Regions from separate parts of the Homo sapiens genome. Here region 1 is linked to region 2. The links are contacts of gene promoters, found by promoter capture Hi-C in blood cells and fetal thymus (Javierre and others, 2016). All regions are on one chromosome and are shown on one strand. The core of a region is centred on a gene start or on the middle of the fragment in contact, and the rest is flanking DNA. Distances in the headings are between cores, read along the strand shown.

Region 1 (5,745 bases), core at 1,171-3,670, about 190 Mb before region 2:
GCTCCCTAAGGAAAAGTTGGGGGTGCTACATAAAATAGTTAAAAAGCTATTTTATAAAGGACATGTTTCACCCACTTTCTGTCTTTAGAATTCTCCTGTTTTTGTAATTCAGAAAAAATCAGGCAGATGGCGCATGCTAACTGACTTAAGAGCCATTAATGCAGTAATTCAACCTATGAGGCCTCTCCAACCCGTGTTGCCCTCTCCAGCCACGATCTCCTTTAATTATAATTGATCTGAAGGATTGCTTTTTTACCATTTCTCTGGCAAAACAGGATTTTGAAAAATTTGCTTTTACTATACCAGCCATAAATAATAAAGAACCAGCCACCAGATTTCAGTGGAAAGTGTTGCCTCAGGGAATGCTTAATAGTCCAATTATTTGTCAGACTTTTGTAGCTCAAGTTCTTCAACCAGTTAGAGACAAGTTTTCAGACTGTTATGTCATTCATTATGTTGATATTTTGTGTGCTGCAGAAACAAGAGGCAAATTAATTGACTGTTACACATTTCTGCAGAGGTTGCAAACGCAGATTCAGACCTCTACTCCTTTTCATTATTTGGGAATGCAAGTAGAGGAAAGAAAAATTAAACCACAACAAATAGAAATAAGAAAAGACACATTAAGAACATTAAATGACTTTCAAAAATTGCTAGGAGATATTAATTGGATTCGGCCAACTCTAGGCATCCCTACTTATGCCATGTCGAATTTGTTCTCTATCTTGAGAGGGTATCCAGACTTGAATAGTAAAAGAACATTAACTCCAGAGGCAGCTAAGGAAATTGAATTAGTTGAAGAAAAAATTCCGTCAGCACAAGTAAATAGAATAGATCACTTAGCCCCACTCCAACTTTTGATTTTTGCTACTGTACATTCTCCAACAGGCATTATTGTTCAAAATACAGATCTTGTGGAGTGGTCATTCTTTCCTCACAGTACAATTAAGACTTTTACATTGTACTTAGATCAAATGGCTACATTAATTGGTCAGGGAAGACTACGAATAGTAAAATTGTGTGGAAGTGACCCAGATAAAATCATTGTTCCTTTAAACAAGGAACAGGTTAGACAAGCCTTTATCAATTCTGCTGCATGGCAGATTGGTCTTGCTGCTTTTGTGGGAATTGTTGATCATCATTACCCAAGAACAAAAATCTTCCAGTTTTCAAAATTGACTACTTGGATTTTACCTAAAATTACCAGACATAAACCTTTAGAAAATGCTCTGATGGTGTTTACTGATGGTTCCAGCAATGGAAAAATGGCTTACCCCAGGCCAAAAGAATGAATCATTGAAACTCAATATCACTCAGCTCAAAGAGCAGAATTGGTTGCTGTTATTTCAGTGTTACAAGATTTTAATCAGCCTATTAACATTGTTTCAGATTCTGCATATGTAGTACAGGCTACAAAGGATGTTGAGACAGCCCTAATCAAATGTAGTATGGATGATCAGTTGAATCAGCTGTTTAATTTTTTACAATAAACTGTAAGAAAAAGAAATTTCCCATTTTATATTACTCATATTCAAGCACATACTAATTTACCAGGGCCTTAACTAAGGGAAATGAACAAGCTGACTTGCTAGTATCATCTGCCTTCATGGAAGCACAAGAACGTCATGCTCTGACTCATGTAAATGCAACAGGATTAAAAAATAAATTTGATATCACATGGAAACAGGCAAAAAATATTGTACAACATTGTACTGAGTGTCAAGTCCTACACCTGCCCACTCAGGAGGCAGGACTTAATCCCAGAGGTTTATGTCCTAATGCATTATGGCAAATGGATGTCACACATGTACCTTCATTTGGAAAATTGTCATTTGTCCATGTGATGGTTGATACTTGTTCACATTTCATATGGGCAACCTGCTAGACAGAAAATGTACTTCCCATGTTAAAAGACATTTATTATCTTGTTTTGCTGTCATGGGAGTTCCAGAAAAAATTAAAACAGATAATGGACCAGGCTACTATAGTAAAGCATTCCAAAAATTCTTAAATCAGTGGAAAATTACACATACAACAGGAATCCCTTATAATTCCCAAGGACAGGCCATAATTGAAAGAAATAATAGGACACTCAAAGCTCAATTTGTTAAACAAAAAAGGAAAAAGAGAGTAAGGAGTATAACACTCCCCAGATGCAACTTAATCTAGCACTCTATACTTTAATTTTTTTAAACATTTATAGAAATAAGACCACTACTTCTGCAGAACAACATTTTACTGGTAAAAAGAACAGCCCACATGAGGGAAAACTGATTTGGTGGAAAGATCAAAAATAAGACATGAGAAATAGGTAAGGTGATAACATGTGGGAGAGGTTTTGCTTGTGTTTCACCAGGAGAAAATCAGCTTCCTGTTTGGATACCCACTAGACATTTGAAATTCTACAATGAACCCATCAGAGATGCAAAGAAAAGTGCCTCCGTGGAGATGGAAAACCCGCAATGGAGCACCATCGACTCGCCAGGTGAACAAAATGGTGATATCAGAAGAACAGATGAAGTTGCCATCCACCAAGAAAGTGGAGCTGCTGACCTGGGCCCAGCTAAAGAAGCTGACACAGTTAGCTGAAAAAAAGCCTGAAGAATACAAGGTTAACACAAACTCCAGAGAATATGCTGCTTGCAGCTTTAATGATTGTACCAACGGTGGTAAGTCTCCCTATGTCTGCAGGAGCAGCTGCAGCTAATTATACTTACTTGGCCTATGTGCCTTTCCCACCCTTAATTCGGACAGTCACTTGGATAGATAATCCTATTGAAGTATATGTTAATAATAGTGCATGGGTACCAGGCCCCACAGATGACCGTGGCCCTGCCCAACCTGAAGAAGAAGGAATGATGATAAACATTTCCATTGGGTATCATTATCCTCCTATTTGCCTGGGGAAAGCACCAGGATGCTTAATACCTACAACCCAAAATTGGTTGGTAGAAGTACCTACTGTCAGTGCCATCAGCAGATTTACTTATCACATGGTAAGTGGAATGTCACTCAGGCCACAGATAAATAATTTACAGGATTTTTCTTATCAAAGATCATTACAATCTAGGCCTAAGGGGAAGCCTTGCCCCAAGGAAATTCCCAAAGAATCAAAAAGCCCAGAAGTCCTAGTTTGGGAAGAATGTGTGGCTGATACTGCAGTGGTACTACAAAACAATGAATTTGGAACTATTATAAACTGGGCTCCTTGAGGCCAATTATATCATAGTTGTGCAGGCCAGACTCAACCATGTTGACAGGTCCCATCCATCTGGCCCATTAATCTGGCCTATGAAAGGCTGGACCAGGTTTATAGTAGGTTAGAATCACTCTATCCATGGAAATGGGGTGTGTAAAACCCCCTTATATGCTAGTTGTAGGAAACAGAGTTATTAAACCAGATTCCCAAACTATAACCTGTGAAAATTGTAGATTGTTTACTTGCATTGATTCAACTTTGGATTGGCAACACTGTATTCTGCTAGTGAGGGCAAGAGAGGGCGTGGGGATCCCTGTGTCCATGGACCAACAGTGGGAGGGTTCCCCATCCATCCATATTTTAACAGAAGTATTAAAAGGAGTTCTAACTAGATCCAAAAGATTCATTTTTACTTTGATTGCAGTGATTATGGGTCTTATCACAGCTACTGCTGCGGCTGCTGGAATTGCTTTACACTCCTCTGTTCAAACTGCAGAATATGTGAATAATTGGCAAAAGAATTCCTCAAAATTGTGGAATTCTCATACCCAAATAGATCAAAAATTGGCAAACCAAATTAATGATCTTAGACAAACTGTAATTTGGATTGGAGATAGGCTCATGAGCTTGGAATACCTTTTTCAGTTACAGTGTGACTGGAATACATCAGATTTTTGTATTACACCTCGAGCTTATAATGAATCTGAACATCACTAGGACATGGTGAGATGCCATCTACAAGGAAGAGAAGATAATCTTACCTTAGAGATTTCAAAATTAAAAGAACAAATTTTTGAGGCATCAAAAGCCCAGTTAAATCTGGTACCAGAAACTGAGGCAATCATGAAAGCTGTTGATAGCCTCACAAATCTTAACCCTGCCACTTGGGTTGAAAACATTGGAAGTTCCACCATTGAAATTTTTGTATTAATCCTTGTATGTCCGTTCTCTCTGTTGTTAGTCTACAGGTGTATCCAGCAGCTCTGGAGAGACAGTGACCAGTGAGAATGGACCATGATGACCATGGCAGTTTTGTCAAAAAGAAAAGGGGGATATGTAGGGAAAAGAGAGATCAGACTGTTACTGTGTCTATGTAGAAAGGGAAGACATAAGAAATTCCATTTTGATCTGTACCTTGAAAAATTGTTTTGCTGAGATGCTGTTAATTTGTAACTTTGCCCCAGCCACTTTGCCCCAACTTTGAGCTCACAAAAACATGTGTTATATGGAATCAAGGTTTAAGAGATCTAGGGCTGGGCAGGATGTGCCTTGCTAACAAAATATTTACAAGCAGTATGCTTGGTAAAACTCATTGCCATTCTCTAGTCTCAATAAACCAGGGGCACAATGCACTGCAAAAAGCCACAGGGACCTCTGCCCTGGAAAGCCGGGTATTGTCCAAGGTTTGTCCCCATGTGATAGTCTGAAATGTGGCCACATGGGATGAGAAAGACCGGACTGTCCCCCAGCCTGACACCTGTAAAGGGTCTGTGCTGAGGTGGATTAGTAAAAGAGGAAAGCCACTTGCAGTTGAGATAGAGGAAGGCCACTGTTTCCTGCCTGCCCCTGGGAACTTAATGTCTCGGTATAAAACCCGATTGTACATATGTTCAATTCTGAGATAGGAGGAAAACTGCCCTATGGTGGGAGGCGAGACATGTTGGCAGCAATGCTGCCTCGTTATTCTTTACTCCACTGAGATGTTTGGGTGGGAAGAAACATAAATCTGGCCCACGTGTACATCCAGGCATAGTACCTCCCCTTGAACTTAATTATGATATAGATTCTTTTGCTCACGTGTTTTTTTGCTGACCTTCTCCTTATTATCACCCTGCTCTCCTACTGCATTCCTCTTGCTGAGATAATGAAAATAATAATCAATAAAAACTGAGGGAACTCAGAGACCGGTGCTGGTGCAGGTCCTTGGTATGCTGAGTGCAGGTCCCCTGGGCCCACTATTCTTTCTCTATAGTTTGTCTTGTATCTTATTTCTTTTCTCAGTCTCTCATCCCACCTGATGAGATATACCCACAGATGTGGAGGGCCAGGCCACCCCTTCAAACATAAACTTATGTTTAGTTTAATATAGATACACACAGTTCTACATAGAAAACTTTATAATCAGGTGTGTATAGGTAGGTTAGACACACACATATACTTCCTAGCATTGCTAATGAGGGACAAGATACAATGTGCTAATTCAACAGCCAGATGTAAGTTTTCCTACCATTCTGAAAGGAATCAGGCTCTTTGAAGAAATGTCTGATACTAGAACTGGGACAGTAAATATAGGAGCCAGGATAATCTTGAAGTATCAGAAAGTAAGTACTAAAAAAAATTAAAATATATCAAAGAAAAATAAGAGCCAATAATAACAGCTACCGAAGGCCAACACAGGAATGAATTGTGCAACACAATGCTGCAGTGTTGAATAATAACTGAAGCTTAAAGTAATTATCTAGGTGTCTGTATTTGTATACATAGGTGAATAAGCTAATGGAGTTGCATAGAAATCTCCTTTGCAAAAGAATTCCAAATAATTGATG
Region 2 (5,502 bases), core at 2,460-4,959:
CTTGTGAATCCTGGGCAGAAGCCAGCTTTTATGTGCAGATTCTAGGTGAGATCAATGTGTGCTGCATTCTTGAGTTACAGGAAACAGAGTAAAATCAGAGGAAAGACCTTCTCATGAAGCCTCCTTCAACATATTCTAAAGAATATTTTGAGCTAAAGGGAAAAAGCTGGGGTAAACATAAGTAGAGAGTTTATTTGAGCCAAAGCTTGAAGACTGCAATCCTGGAGTATAAAGTTGCCCTGAATATACACTCCAATTAGAAGCAGTTACAAGCATATTTTTACAGGCAAAAAGGAAGTCAGAGAGGAGATTGATAGAAAGGTGTCAGAAATTCTTATTGGTTTATAGAAGTAACATTGGTTAGTGATTGGCCATATACATAGTTAAGCTATAGGGTATGGGTCATAGTGTCCAGTGTGGCATTATTAGGTTAATTTACAGCCACTTGTGGCAATAGCAAGCAATTTCAAAAGACAAATAGTTCAAGGAGGAGAACAGTATGTGAGTGTGGTCTCATTTTAACACATCTCTGGGTCTGATAAATCTAAAAACTTGTATTTCTCAAATAAAAGTTCTTTTATCAAATCTCAGGACATAAATTCAGAATTTGGAACTGCACATTTAGGTCTTGGAGGGCTGGTGAGCTATGTTTGTGGGCCACAATGTGGCCCATGCCAAATGTTTGTGGGCATGTGGGCAAGGGGAGGTGGGAGGGAGCAGAATTTCTCAGGTTTAATCGATGCGTATGTGTGAATCTGGTTAGGTTTATGGGCCCCATATCTCTGAAATCAGTGTCAGAACGGAAGATGCCAGGAGCACTGAAGGCGGTGAAATAACTGACTGCTGTCCTGAAAAGTTATTTTTGTAGAAATTTAACTGCTCTAGAAAGGACTGTAGATGCCAAGAGAGAGACCATTCTGTTTGCAGATTTAGGAAATACTTTGCTGCACTTTGCCGCACAATTGCAGGTTGTGACTGGAATCCTGAGAAAGAATGTTTTCTCAAGTGAAGTCTGCTCGACATTTTGTGTATAACATCTGGTAATTCTGGACAGTGTGTGGAAAATATAACTAAAAGCAAAATCATCTGCAATCCTAAAAAAGTCTCCACAGTAACAGAACTGCAAGAAAATGTTTTGTTGTATAATTAAACCAAAATATGATGTGCATCACAAGCAATCTAAGAAAATGCAAACACAGAAAGTCACCATAATTAGTTCTCAAGTAGAAGCCTTGAAAGCACCATTTGTCATACACAATTTATTATAATTTCATCATGTAATTTGAGAGGTCATCTGGGTTTTCTAATTTTTTCTAATCATTAAAGAAAAAATAAACATCCACATCTTCGTGACAGGATGTAGATTTGCAATGTGGAGCTAGGTACCTGCTGAAGGCAGCCTCCTAGTCCCCTACAGAAACTGTGAAATAGGGTGTATATTCTTGCTATTTACATTTCAAAGCAATAGTTCCCAGGTCCCAGATGAAGACAATTTTGAGCCAAAAAAGACAAATGACCTATTTAACTGATAAAAATGATTTACATATATTTCAAAGAAGCAGAGAAAATATTTAAATATAAAAGTTCTCAAACTAAATGCTTTAAGAAAAAGGAGAAGAGCAAAAATTCTTCCCTCGTTCTAAAGAGAAAGCATTAAGCCTCTTCTAATTTGTGTTTGCTCCTACAACAGCCAGGCCAAAAGGCCTGGTTTCGAACTCACTAACGTCTGAATTCTCATAGGCACCTGAGGGATGGACTTGGGCACACCGTGTACACAGAAAAGAGAATTTGTGGGGAAGGAAAAAGCAGAAGAGAAAGGAGCTATCAACAGCCATGGGTGGGAGGCCGGGCGCGGTGGCTCACGCCTGTAATCCCAGCACTTTGGCAGGCCGAGGCGGGAGGGCTCAAGGTCAGGAGATCCAGACCATCCTGGCTAACACGGTGAAACCCCGTCTCTACTAAAAATACAAAAAAAAAAAAATTAGCCAGGCATGGTGGCGGGCGCCTGTAATCCCAGCTACTCGGGAGACTGAGTTAGGAGAATGGCGTGAACCTGGGAGGCGGAGCTTGCAGTAAGCCGAGATCACGCCACTGCACTCCAGCCTGGGCAACAGAGCAAGACGCCATCTCAAAAAAAAAAAGCCATGAGTGGGAGCAGGGCAGGACTGACTAAAGCACTGGTTTGTGCCACAGGTACAGGCCGAGGCAGGGCTACGCTCTGATTCCATGTCTACAAAGACAGAAGGGATTAGGATCAGGTGGTCCGGAAGCCTGGGTGGGTGAAGGAAGCAGGTTCCTGCTGTAGATCCGGTCTGCGGTTGAGATGAGCCAGGAGACTTCTGGGCACTGCGTGTGTTTTTGGCAGAAAACGCTAGGCGCAAAGCTGCCATGGGCACAATTCCTGAGGTGGAATCCTGTACTGGGAAGAGTGGGGCAATGCGAATGCCCGGTGGGCGTGCTCAGGAGTGGACTAGCATTGGGTGGGGGCTGGCAGCAGGGTGCAGGGAAGGGATGTTTCTCAGAACTCCTTTCCTCTTTGTTCTGGGTCCCCTCTCTCCCCGGAAGGAGACCTGGAGGAAAAGGACAGTGCCCAGCGGGACAGCACATATGCAGAACCCGGCCGCGCCTCCCGCAGACACCAGGCATCTTTCTCCAGCCCAGGCTCAGCCATGTCTTTCTTCTGACAGAAAACGTGCGGAGTTTCCTCAACACCAGTCAATGCTCCAACCCCAACGCGGTGTCCAGCAACTCACTAACGACACCACCCAGAGTCAGCGCAGACCCCACAAGCTCAGCGCTCTTCCCACAACTGCTCCCGCTGCAGACGCCAGTCCCTGCCTCTGGACACCCGTCTTCATTTCTGAACGCCTGTCTACAAACCAGGGGCGCCCACACCCTCAAGTTCAGCAATGTGGCAGAACTACTCACAGAACTGAGAAGCGCCGTGCGCACCGACACCAGCGTATTCTAAAAGATGTTACTCAGGAACAGCCACGCGGAGGAGGTGCACAGGGCAAAGGGACTGGTGGAATAGTTGGAGCGGGCGGGTGATTTGCTTCGCTTGCTCACACACCTCACAAAAGCCTTTCCTTCAAGACCCGCTGGCAGTCCCCAAACCAGGAGCCGCGGCCGACGCTGTCCCATTAATGAGACCCCGTTTGCTCACATGAACTTTGTTTCGATGGGGCCTCGATCTCATTCCGAACAGGGTAAAGTAGGGACCGGACCCCCGGACCACAGCTCCTCCCAGGCGGGCACCTCGCACGCGGGCGCCGGCGTCTTCCAGATGAGCTCCTCCTCACCCCGCGGCCCAGGGAAGGTGCGGGGCTGCGGGCGCAGAACTGCACAAGGAGGGCCGCAGGCTGGGCCAGAGCCGCCGTGCGGGGACCGACAGGAGCCCGGTCCGTCACCGGAGGGGACTGAGGGCTGAGAGGCGGCAGCGGGGACTCCGTTCGCAGACTCGGTCCCGCCGCCGCCATTTCCCGCCGGTTCCGATGAGGCCTCCCCAGCCTCCGGACGCCCTGCCCCGCACACTCACCATTTCCCGACTTCAGGGTATCCGGGAGTCTTAGCTACAAATTGTCCAATACCCTCAGGTCACAGAGCAACGGGAGGCAGAGGCTGTGGCTGAATCACCGAGGCCTCCCGGAGCCGAGAACGCAGAGAGCTGAAGCCCTAAACCAAGCCCTCGCAGGAGCCAGAGGAAAACGCCGCGCCAGATCCCGGAAGCCAACCCCTCCTCTCTGGCTGCGGGCCTGATTGGGCAGTTCTCATTCCGACACTCTGATTGGATATTACTCCAATCCCCGCCCTCGGGCCTTGAGTAACAGAATTTGCAACCATACACTCCACTGATGTGGCAAGAGTGACAGGCTGGGGCCTCCAGGCCCTTTCAGGCGGGGCTTTCTCTCCCGGCTTGGCCTGACGCAGCCCAGGGGTGTTTTTTTTAACCTTGTTGTGTGTAAGGTTATGTCCACTTGTAAAATACACTTACACACAGACGTGCACACACGCGCGCACACACACGCGCGCACACACACGCATGCACACATGCATGCACACACACTTTTTCACAAACGGAAGTGATATAATGACAATTATTTTAATATTTTAGATTTCATAACCCTTCTGGCCGCTAGTCTTTTGAGTAGGACACCTGAGATTTTAAGAGGGAAGCAATCCTTTAAAAAATAAAATATTAATTTGTGAATTTTGCGTTTTTATTAGCCACGTCAAAAATAATATTTAAAGAGTGAAGTTGTTTGTAATAATTTTTAACTCATTGTATCAAAATATTGTTTTAATATGTGATTGATATATAATTAGAAATAAAGTATATTTCTGATCTAATTCTTCTAAACTCACTGTGTATTTTATGTATTTCTGATCTAATTCTTCTAAACTCACTGTGTATTTTATGTTTGCAGCACATTTTACTTCAAACCAGTCACATTCCAGGTACCCAGTAGCTACATATGGCAGGTGGCTGCCACATTGAGCGCAGCCATGAGGGCTCTCTTCCCTTAGGGAAGTGAGGGCCTGAACACCTCTTTTCTGCTGGAAGTAAGGGACCAGCCTCTCTACCAACTTTTCTCCTCAGGCTCAAGGGTGGGTGGGACAGTGCCCCTAGAGAGAGCAGGGGCTGCAAGCTGAGAGTATCCACGTGAAGACCACGGTTTCCCAGTTGCTGTTTGGTGGAGGTGTGGTGGTCTCCTCGGTTCAGCCAGGTCGGGACTCTTGTGCCACGACCAAAAAGAATGAAGCACACGGATACCAGAGAGTGAGCAAGGCAGAGTAGGATTTATTAAGCAAAAGGAAAGCTCTCAGAAGCAAGAGGGGACCTGAAAGCAGGTTGCCAGAAATGAGGCTGAGGTCTGGGTCTTTTATGTGGCAAGAACAAGTATGTCTTCTGTGGGTTCTGCCCAAATGGGAGGGGTAAAGTTCCTCACTAAGGGTGTTGCATCTGCGCATGCCTGGGATTGGCCACAGTGACTCCATTTTGGTTATTACCCATGAGTGCCTAAGCGAAACTTACACGAGGAGAGCCAAAACCACAATGCTAATGTCATGTTAATGACCTTATAATGAGCTGGGTCAAGTTAAGGACATTTGGGTTGATTTATTGCGCCTGTGCTAAGTTGGGACAGTCCCTTTGGAGCAACATCCTGGCATAAGAGGAAGTTCTTAACCACATTTCTTCCTGCTAGCTACAGAGGTGGTGCAGGTGCGGTCCCACACGTGTTTTTCCTCTCCCCAGGCCCTCTCTCTATCTGCCTAACCAGCGTCCGACTGCCTCCTCTATCAAAGGTTCCTCTTCCTTTCAAATATCAGACAGCAAACAAAGAATGTTGGGGCCACACAAGCAGAGAACACCATGTCTTCAGATCTCTTCACAGCCTTGTCCTCCAGAGTTTAGAAGTGGAGGGAAAAGATTAAAGGCAATCTTCTTGTTTTGCTATTTGTCCTTGGACCTAATCTGGACCTAATTTGGACACACAGGCT

The links. Contacts are between HindIII fragments. The CHiCAGO score rates a contact against its expected background, and 5 or more counts as called.
Region 1: a fragment that was not itself captured here is called in contact with the fragment with the promoter of ZNF595 in region 2 in 17 of 17 cell types (M0 macrophages, endothelial precursors, total B cells and 14 more); the score reaches 128.7 in M0 macrophages.

Annotation. Positions count from the first base shown.
Region 1 is chr4:190,105,773-190,111,517 of GRCh38, reverse strand. It overlaps LOC107986338 (a long non-coding RNA gene), which reads left to right. Exons shown (of 3, transcript XR_001741971.3): 2 at 2,391-2,669; 3 at 4,161-5,745. Among named protein-coding and RNA genes, the nearest start is that of DBET, 44 kb to the right of the region's middle. RefSeq lists an enhancer at 2,481-3,019. The HindIII fragment of the contact is 6,450 bases long and covers 1-5,645 here.
Region 2 is chr4:51,528-57,029 of GRCh38, reverse strand. It overlaps ZNF595 (zinc finger protein 595), which reads right to left and starts at 3,709. Exons shown (of 4, transcript NM_182524.4): 1 at 3,539-3,709. The coding sequence starts at 3,541. RefSeq lists enhancers at 1,966-2,906, 2,907-3,848. The HindIII fragment of the contact is 7,613 bases long and covers 208-5,502 here.